Regions from separate parts of the Homo sapiens genome. Here regions 1 and 2 are each linked to region 3. The links are contacts of gene promoters, found by promoter capture Hi-C in human tissues and cell types (Jung and others, 2019). All regions are on one chromosome and are shown on one strand. Each heading gives the region's core, a stretch centred on a gene start or on the middle of the fragment in contact. The rest is flanking DNA. Distances are from core to core; before and after follow the strand shown. Region 1 overlaps SH3RF1 (SH3 domain containing ring finger 1). Region 2 overlaps SH3RF1 (SH3 domain containing ring finger 1). Region 3 holds the start of SH3RF1 (SH3 domain containing ring finger 1).

Region 1 (2,700 bases), core at 198-2,697, 81 kb after region 3:
AGGGATTGAGTTCTTGATTTGATTATCAGCTGGGTCGCTGTTGGTATATAGAAGAGCTACTGATCTGCGTACATTAATTTTGTATGTTGAAGAGGAGTGGTGACGGTGGGCATCCTTGTCTTGTTCCAGTTCTCAGAGGGAATTATTTCAACTTTTCCCCATTTAGTATTATGTTGGCTGTGGGTTTGTCATAGATGGCTTTTATTACATTGAGGTATGTCCCTTGTAAGGCAATTTTGCCCAGAGTTTTAATCGTAAAGGGATGCTGGATTTTGTCGAATGCTTTTTCTGCATCTATTGAGATGATGATGTGATTTTTGTTTTTAATTCTGTTTATGTGGTGTATCACATTTATTGACTTGTGTGTGTTAAACCATACCTGCATCCCTTTTATGAAACCCACTTGATCATGGTGGATTATCTTCTTGATATGTTGTTGGATTTGGTTAGCTAGTCCTTTGTTAAGGATTTTAGCATCTGTGTTCATCAGGGATATTGGTCTGTAGTTTTCTTTTTTGGTTATATCCTTTCCTGGTTTTGGTATTAGGGTGATGCTGGCTTCATAGAATGATTTAGGGAGGGTTCCCTCTTTCTCTGTCTTGCGGAATAGTGTCAATAGGACTGGGATCAATTCTTCTTTGAATGTCTGGTAGAATTCTGCTGTGAATCCATCTGGTACTGGACTTTTTTTTTTTTGGTAATTTTAAAATGACCATTTCAGTCTCTCTGCTTGTTATTTGTCTGTTCAGGGTATCTAATTCTTCCTGATTAAGCTAGGAGGGTTGTATCTCTCTAGAAATTTATCCATCTCCTCTAGGTTTTCTAGTTTATGCATGTAAAGGTGTTCATAGTAACCTCGAATGATCTTTTGTATTTCTGTGTTGTCAGTTGTAATGTCTCTCGTTTTGTTTCTTATTGAGCTTATTTGGATTTTCTCTCTTCTTTTCTTTGTTAATCTTGCTAATGGTCTATCAATTTGATTTATCTTTTCAAAGAACCAGCTTTTTGTTTCATTTATCTTTTGTATTTTTTGTTTGTTTCAATTTCATTTGCTTCTGCTCTGATCTTGGTTATTTCCTTTCTTTTGCTGGGTTCAGGTTTGGTTTGTTCTTGTTTCTCCGGTTCCTTGAGGTGTGACCTTAGAATGTCTGTGCTGTTTCAGACTTTTTGATGTAGGCGTTTAGGGCTATGAACTTTCCTCTTGGCACTGCCTTTTGCTGTGTCCCATAGGTTTTGATAGTTTGTGTCACTATTGTCACTCAGTTAGAATAATTTTTAAATTTTCATCTTGATTTCATTTTTGACCCAATGATTCAGGAGCAGGTTATTTAATTTCCATGTATTTGCATGGTTTTGAAGGTTCCTTTTGGAGTTGATTTCCAGTTTTATTCCACTGTGGTCTGAGAGAGTGCTTGATATAATTTCATTTGAAAAGGAGGTAACATTTATTGAGTGTAGTAGACTTGAGTAGCATTAGGTGCTTTTCATACTTGATCTCCCTTCAGCCTTACAACCCTTGAATGAAGAAATTAAACTTTGGGGATTCGAGCAACTTGCCCAAGAGCACGCAGCTAACCAGCAGTGGGTCAGAAATAGGAGCCCACGCCTGCCTGGTCCCAAAGCTTGTCTTTTCCTATGCACCCAACTTTCTCTAACAGCATAGGCCACCACTGGTTTTATTTTTAACCTGTGGTATTGCACTGATAGCCGTGGCAACAGAAACTTTATGATTTGAAAGATCTGTAGAGGAGTCCTGGGGAGAGGAAAGCAACAGTGTACCTGCTTTCTTTTCACATGTAGTTCTTTCCTGCCCTGGCATGGATCTTGTTCTGGCTTTTCACCTCCAGAGCTGTGATGAGGAGTAAGAAAACTCATGCTAACCTACCATGACTTCTGCCAGTCTTGGCCCCATGTGGGACTGGTCAAAATAGAATACCAGATATTTTTTAAAAAGTGTTTTAATGGGACTAAAATAACAGCAAAATGTCAGCACGAGGTGCTGCCTGCTTTATGACATAGTTGACTAATTGCAGATAGTTTTTTCTGAATTTAAGTGTTTTGGGAAATGGTATTGTGTTTGCTTATTGTGGTAAATATTCACTTTTGCATCAACGGAAATAGAATTGTGAGAACCACAATGTGCTTCATTTTAGACATTTACAAAAGCTTCTACTTGAACTGACAAGAATCTCTTCAGAATAACTATTTAAGCCCAAACTATCTTTTTTCTACAAGAATGAGACAGTTAAATTGTATCCCTGGAAGTTTTCATTTTCTTTTTTTCTTCTTGTTGTTTTTTGCTTTTGCACTATATTTATCTTTTTGAAGAGGTTGAGGTAACTACATAATTCCATTGAAAAAGTCAGTTACAAGTGGTACATTGATAAACTATTTTCTTAGTGACGCAACCACCAAAATATTATAGAAGAGAAGAGCATGTGTTTAACACTCCTTGCTGAAAGCTTGAAGCACACGCACCAAATTGATAGAGGGAGTATGGAAGAAATTATTTTGCCAATTTTGGCCACTTCTGCATAAAGCTTTTCATTTAGAATTTATTGAACTGCCGTATACAGGTTGAAATTGTTACATAAGCCAGAAAGCTTTAAAGATTTTGAGTGTGTCGATGTTTTTACATGTGGGCTTTTTTCCTGTCAGATTTTCAGTGAATTACAACGATCACAAGTACATTTTCATTAG
Region 2 (2,700 bases), core at 138-2,637, 110 kb after region 3:
ATTGCTATGTGAATTCATCTAAAAGGGAAAGCATCCAGCTGTGGAGAGACAAATGCATTGTCAGGTGCCCCATTTCACTGGTAAAGAGGCTTTTTACACTGGGTAATGATGACGATGATGACAATGATGATGGTTCACACATGTAGCATGTACTGCCTGCTGGGTCATTTAAGGTGTGGCTTATATATATGAATTCACTAAATCCTCACAACAGCCCAAATGAAGAAAGAGGCACAGCGAGTTAACCTGCCCCAAATCACAGAGCTAGTAAATGGGATTCACACCCTGCAATCTGGCTCTGGAGTTTGTGCTTCCAGCCAGTACCCTATACTGCCTGATCAGAGTCTCTTTAGCTATTGTACAAGAGATTTAGTATAGTACTTGCCAGTTCTCTCTCTTTCTCTCTCTCTATCTCTCTCTCTCTGTCGATTGCTGTGTTTTACTATTATTTCCTCAAACCTATTTTTGGAAATGTTGTTAAGCTGTGATAACTAGCCTTGAAGAAATACATAATATAGTGGAGAATATAATGAGGCATCTGTGAGGGTAGAGAAAAATTAGAATTCTTCTTTCCCCAGAGTTGGACACTAATGTAATGTGACCAGAGTACACAGCGTTGTGAATGACCAGAGTTCTTGGTGGGCATTTCCTTTCTGGGCACAGCAGAATTGCTTACAAGATTAGGTCAAGGCAGAGTAGCAGAAGTGACGCCATTGGAGGCCAGATCTTAAGACAGAGTCTGAAAGTCAGAGGTCACAGGAGGGTGTCATTACTCTGGAAGGCTCAACCCCTGTCTTCCCAGGACATTGGCCTCTCAGGGAAGTTCTAATTAACCAACTACAACATCACATGGACTAAGCCAAGGCAAGATGATTGCCAATAGCATTTTGAGAGCAATAATTAATATTCCTAAACAAATGTTTAGCAAAACAAATTTGGCTTATAGGTAGTCCAGACTCTAAGTCTCTAAGTAGAAACCAAACTAATTTTTGAAAATTGTGTTATGAAGTTCTGTTGCCATCAAGGGTATAAAACTTTGATCCACTTTTTACAGGTCGGGGGGCAGACAATGATATAAGTAATGCTAACTATATTGCTCTACTTCATTGGAAATATTAAACTTAAAAAATATTCAACTAGTTGAGGCCTGTGCTTTGCACATAGCTCTCTGCCTGCCTGCCCACTTCACGTCCATTTTCCACACTACTGCCAGACTGATCTGTCCGGCACATAGGACCTAAGTCTGTTTGTGCATTAAACATGGAAATGACTTACCATTACCAGAAGAACGCAGCAATAAAAACTCTTTCATATGTTATACAAGACCCTCAATAAACTGGCCTCTGCCTACCTCTCCTTTATGTTCCGTAATTCTTATCCAGGAATACTGCATTCTTTATGCTCCCCAGTCCCGCTGCACATGTGACTTCTTACCTCCAGGTCTTTGCTGGTGCTGACCCCTCTGCCTGGAATGCCCTTACTGTTCTCTTTCATTCATTCACTCCAACCTTGACAACTAATTCCTGTGCATCCTTTAAGACTTGGCTCATGTGTCACTTCCTCCAGGAAGTGTTTCATTTTCCTACTCACCAAACACGAGAGACCTATGTTTTTTGTCCCCATAAATGGTGTGCATATCTTTATCATTACATTTATTACACTGTATTGTAGTTATTACTAATATCCTTTAAGAAAAGAACTGTCTTATTCTTCTTTAAGTCATCAGCACTTGCACATTGCGTGGTAAAAAGTAAAAGCTTGCACTGGGTGCGATGGCTCATGCCTATAATCCCAGCACTTTGGGAGGCCAAGGTGGGTGGATCATTTGAGGTCAGGAGTTTGAGACCAGCCTGGCCAACATGGCGAGACCCCATTTTGTAAAAATACAAAAATGAGCCAGACATAGTGGTGCTTGCCTGCAATCCCAGCTACTTGGGAGGCTGAAGCGTTAAAATCACTCAACCCAGGAGGCAGAGGTTGCAGTGAGCCGAGATTGCACCACTGCACTCCAGCCTGGGCAACAGAGCAAGACTCCGTCTTAAAAAAAAAAAAGAAAAAAAAAGTAAAAGCTTGATAAATGTTTTCTGGAAGAGTGAATAAATAAATAAAGACTCCAAAAGCAGGAGCCCTGTAATCTTGTTCAGGGAATTATTATAGACATGTTGGATTTGCCACTTATCTCCTGAATCAACGATATGCAACAGCGCTCAGAGAGGCCAAAGATCTTAAAGTGACAACTGATGCTCAAGATTGGGCACCCCCAATGCCGTTGAAAAGTATCATATTAATCAGTTGATGATTAAATTGCACTGGGGTTTATGTACACAATTTTAAACTTGTCATTTAAAACAGTAATGCAATGCAGGAACATTAAATTCCTCATCTCTTAGCTTATCAGCCTAACAATGTGCTCTCTTCCAGGAAAGAGCAAAGTTGAATGATCTTAGGCTGTAAAAGACCACGTGTCTATACACTTACAGATTATAAACTTGGGGATGGCAGGTACTGTGACTGTTCACTCACTGCTGTATCCAGGAGTAGACCCTCATTAAATACTCATTGAGCTCATGAAAGAGTAAGACCTACTGCCCACATTAAAAGCAATATCAGGAAGAGATTTGCCTAAAAGCCGAACTCTGATTTTTATCAACCAAGCTTAAAAGCAGTTTAGTAAATTAATAAATTTGGTTTAAATTTTTC
Region 3 (2,700 bases), core at 90-2,589:
GTGATCCTTATGTCTTGAATGGTTTAGCTGTGGCCCTAGCTGGAGACTAGAGGATAAACTGAGACTCCTCGTCAAATCATAAACCTAGTTGGTGGCTGGGCAGAGATTTCTTGCATCATCTGTTGTAACCCTTTCTTCTTATAACCACCTAGTTTCTGCCCACCTTTGAGGAGGGGTATTTGGGATAACTTTTTGTAAATTGATGGTAAATGCAAATATAGTAATGTCAACTTTAGATCAGTGACAAAATTTTAACTTGCTTCTCCACTAAATCGAGACTGAAAAACCTCAAAACCTATGGACAAGATGTTTTTCAAAACTCCACTTCGGTTTACAGGTGTGTGCTTGGGGCAACCAAAACAAAGATTACTGCGATGATGGCAGCCACCCAGGCTCAGATAAAAGAGGCGCCTCTCAGCGTGCTTTGCGGTGCCAGCCCACCTGAGGTCAGACTCAATTCTCCCCACTTAGGGCAGGGATAACAGAGCCCCCGAGCCTGGGTTGGAAGTCCGTACTACCGTTTTCCTAGTCTTGGGCTTTGGGGTCAGCGGTCCTCCAGGCTTGCTCCGGTTTGGGTCCTGGGGTGACTGATGGCTGGGTGCGGACAGGTGGCCGCGGCACTGTCCCCATCGATTCACCACGCCGCTCTCGGCCCTAAGGGGCAACACTTCGCTCCGACTCTACCAAGTAAGTGTCCGGGGTGGGCAACCAGACGCAAAGCGCAGCGGGATCGGTTCCCGCCAGGGCTGCTCCCGCCGCCTCCGCGGACCCAGCCCCTCCCGCGCCGCGACTCGCCCAGCCTGGGGAGGAAGGGTCCGTCCAGGGCTCCCAGCCCCGCCGGGGGGAGGAGGAGGCGGCGGGACCCTGTCCCGGGGCTTCTTCCTGCTTCCCCCAGCCTCCACTCCCGCCGCCTTCCCGTCCGGTGGCTCCATTTTTCAGGCGCGTTCTCCTCAGGGAGAAGGCGTCCGTCCCCGAGCCTTCCCCTCGTAGTCCCCTGGGGGCCCCGCTCCCCATCCTCTAGGCTCTTGCAGCGCCCCCTCAGGCCGCCGCCCCAATCCCGCCCCCGGGCTCCGGCGGGGTACTGGGCGCAGGTCACCTCAGCGCGGGAGGCCGGCGCGGCGGCGGGTGGCTCCGAGAGGTGCCGCGCCCGCTCCCGGGGAAGGCGCTGTGGCGCGGGGCCGCCCCCTTGCGCCCCGGGCGCCGGCTGCGTCCCGGCCTCCTCCTCCTCTTCCTCCGCCCTCCTTGGCTGGGAAAGTGGGAGGCGGCGGCGGCGGCGTGGTGTGTGTGCGCGCGTGAGGGGGGCAGCAGAGAGGAGTCTCCCGGTGCCGCCGCGGCGTCAGAGACACTGCGAGCGGCGAGCGCGGTGGGGCCGCATCTGCATCAGCCGCCGCAGCCGCTGCGGGGCCGCGAACAAAGAGGAGGAGCCGAGGCGCGAGGTAGGGCGCGCGGCCGGCGCGGGGTCGACGGGGACCCAGCGTCGGCGGACCCCTAGCCGCGGAGAAGGCGGTGGTCTCGACATTCCCCCATCCCCGCCCTGGGTCGGTCTCTCTCTCCCCTCGCCCTCGGGTCCCCGTGGGCCGGGAATCAGGACCTGCGGAAGCGGAGCAGCCCGCGGCCTCTGCCTTCTCCGGGCAGGAAGCTGCCAGGGCTCCGTGCCGCGGTCTCCCCGGGCGCAGCCCAGCACCCCCTGCTTCCCGGATGGCGCGGTCTCTCTGGGGACTGTCGCCTTATCTTGGCTGGGCTAGAAAGCTGCTTCCCCGTGGCACTCTGTGGGGCTGAGTTTCGCAACTTAAGCCTGCGCATTTATTTTTAAGTCCTTGAAAACTTCCCGCAGTCGTGTAGAGGGATTTGTGTCCCCGGCCTGAGCTAAAGGGAGGCGGAGATGAGGGAGGCTGTAGGGTGAGATCCCCACGCCGGGACCGGCCGGGCCGCAGCCCCAGGCCGCGACCGGCTCCTGCCGGGTGCCGCCGACACCTGGCCCCGGGGTGTGTCTGCGGCGAGCGGCCGCCGCGCCTCCCTGCGGGCTTGGGAGTACCTGTGCTTGGCGCCGTGGGAGCGGGGGTGCAGCCCTGGGGCTCCCCCGCTCCGGCTTTGTCAAGAACAGCTGTTAATGCTCCCAGCCAAATCTTTTTACTCCCGTTCTCCTGGGCATTCACTTTTACATTTATTTTGGCGGTGGGGGGAGAGCGGCGCAGTAAGTGGCTTGCTTTTTCCTGAATGGCCTCATTTTCATATGCCCACAGTTTCCAGTCCAACCTTCCATTGTCGAATTCTTTTGGTGATAATTTTGCCAGCTTTTCTGAATGGGATTAGGACAGGCCGTTCAGAAATGTGTTTCAGAGTTTATCAACTACTGCCCTGAAGGGCGCTTTTCTGTTTTAGCTGCTTTCAAGCAAATCTGTGTCTTTTAGAATTGTCAACCTTCAGCTCTTTTTGGTTGGGCAAAATTAAACAGTTCTATTTTTAATAACAGCGAAGAAACATATGTATTTAATATTGGGATCATTTACCACGAGCGATTACATGAGGCATGGTTTCTTAAACGCTAAAGTGGCTTAAAAAAGGGAATTTAGTTGGATATAAAAGTAAATTTCAGGTAGAGGAAACTTTCAATGGCCTCTGTCAGCTTCTCCTATGAGTTGAAGACTTTATTAAGGCAGCTGATACCACTTTCAGAGCTTAAGAAATTATGTTCCTTAT

Evidence for each region. Contacts are between HindIII fragments. The study calls those that stand out against the background at their distance.
Region 1: a fragment that was not itself captured here is called in contact with the fragment with the promoter of SH3RF1 in region 3 in 2 of the 25 tissues and cell types used here (dorsolateral prefrontal cortex and stomach).
Region 2: a contact is called between a fragment that was not itself captured here and the fragment with the promoter of SH3RF1 in region 3, in 5 of the 25 tissues and cell types used here (H1 embryonic stem cells, dorsolateral prefrontal cortex, hippocampus and 2 more).

Annotation. Positions count from the first base shown.
Region 1 is chr4:169,188,585-169,191,284 of GRCh38, reverse strand. The region is part of intron 2 of SH3RF1 (SH3 domain containing ring finger 1); the gene reads left to right. Among named protein-coding and RNA genes, the nearest start is that of SH3RF1, 81 kb to the left of the region's middle. The HindIII fragment of the contact is 6,148 bases long and covers 1-2,700 here.
Region 2 is chr4:169,157,100-169,159,799 of GRCh38, reverse strand. All of the region lies in intron 2 of SH3RF1 (SH3 domain containing ring finger 1), which reads left to right. Among named protein-coding and RNA genes, the nearest start is that of SH3RF1, 110 kb to the left of the region's middle. The HindIII fragment of the contact is 4,174 bases long and covers 1-2,700 here.
Region 3 is chr4:169,269,595-169,272,294 of GRCh38, reverse strand. SH3RF1 (SH3 domain containing ring finger 1) reads left to right here and starts at 1,339. Exons shown (of 12, transcript NM_020870.4): 1 at 1,339-1,436. RefSeq lists silencers at 709-858, 899-1,658, 1,899-2,118. The HindIII fragment of the contact is 13,720 bases long and covers 1-2,700 here.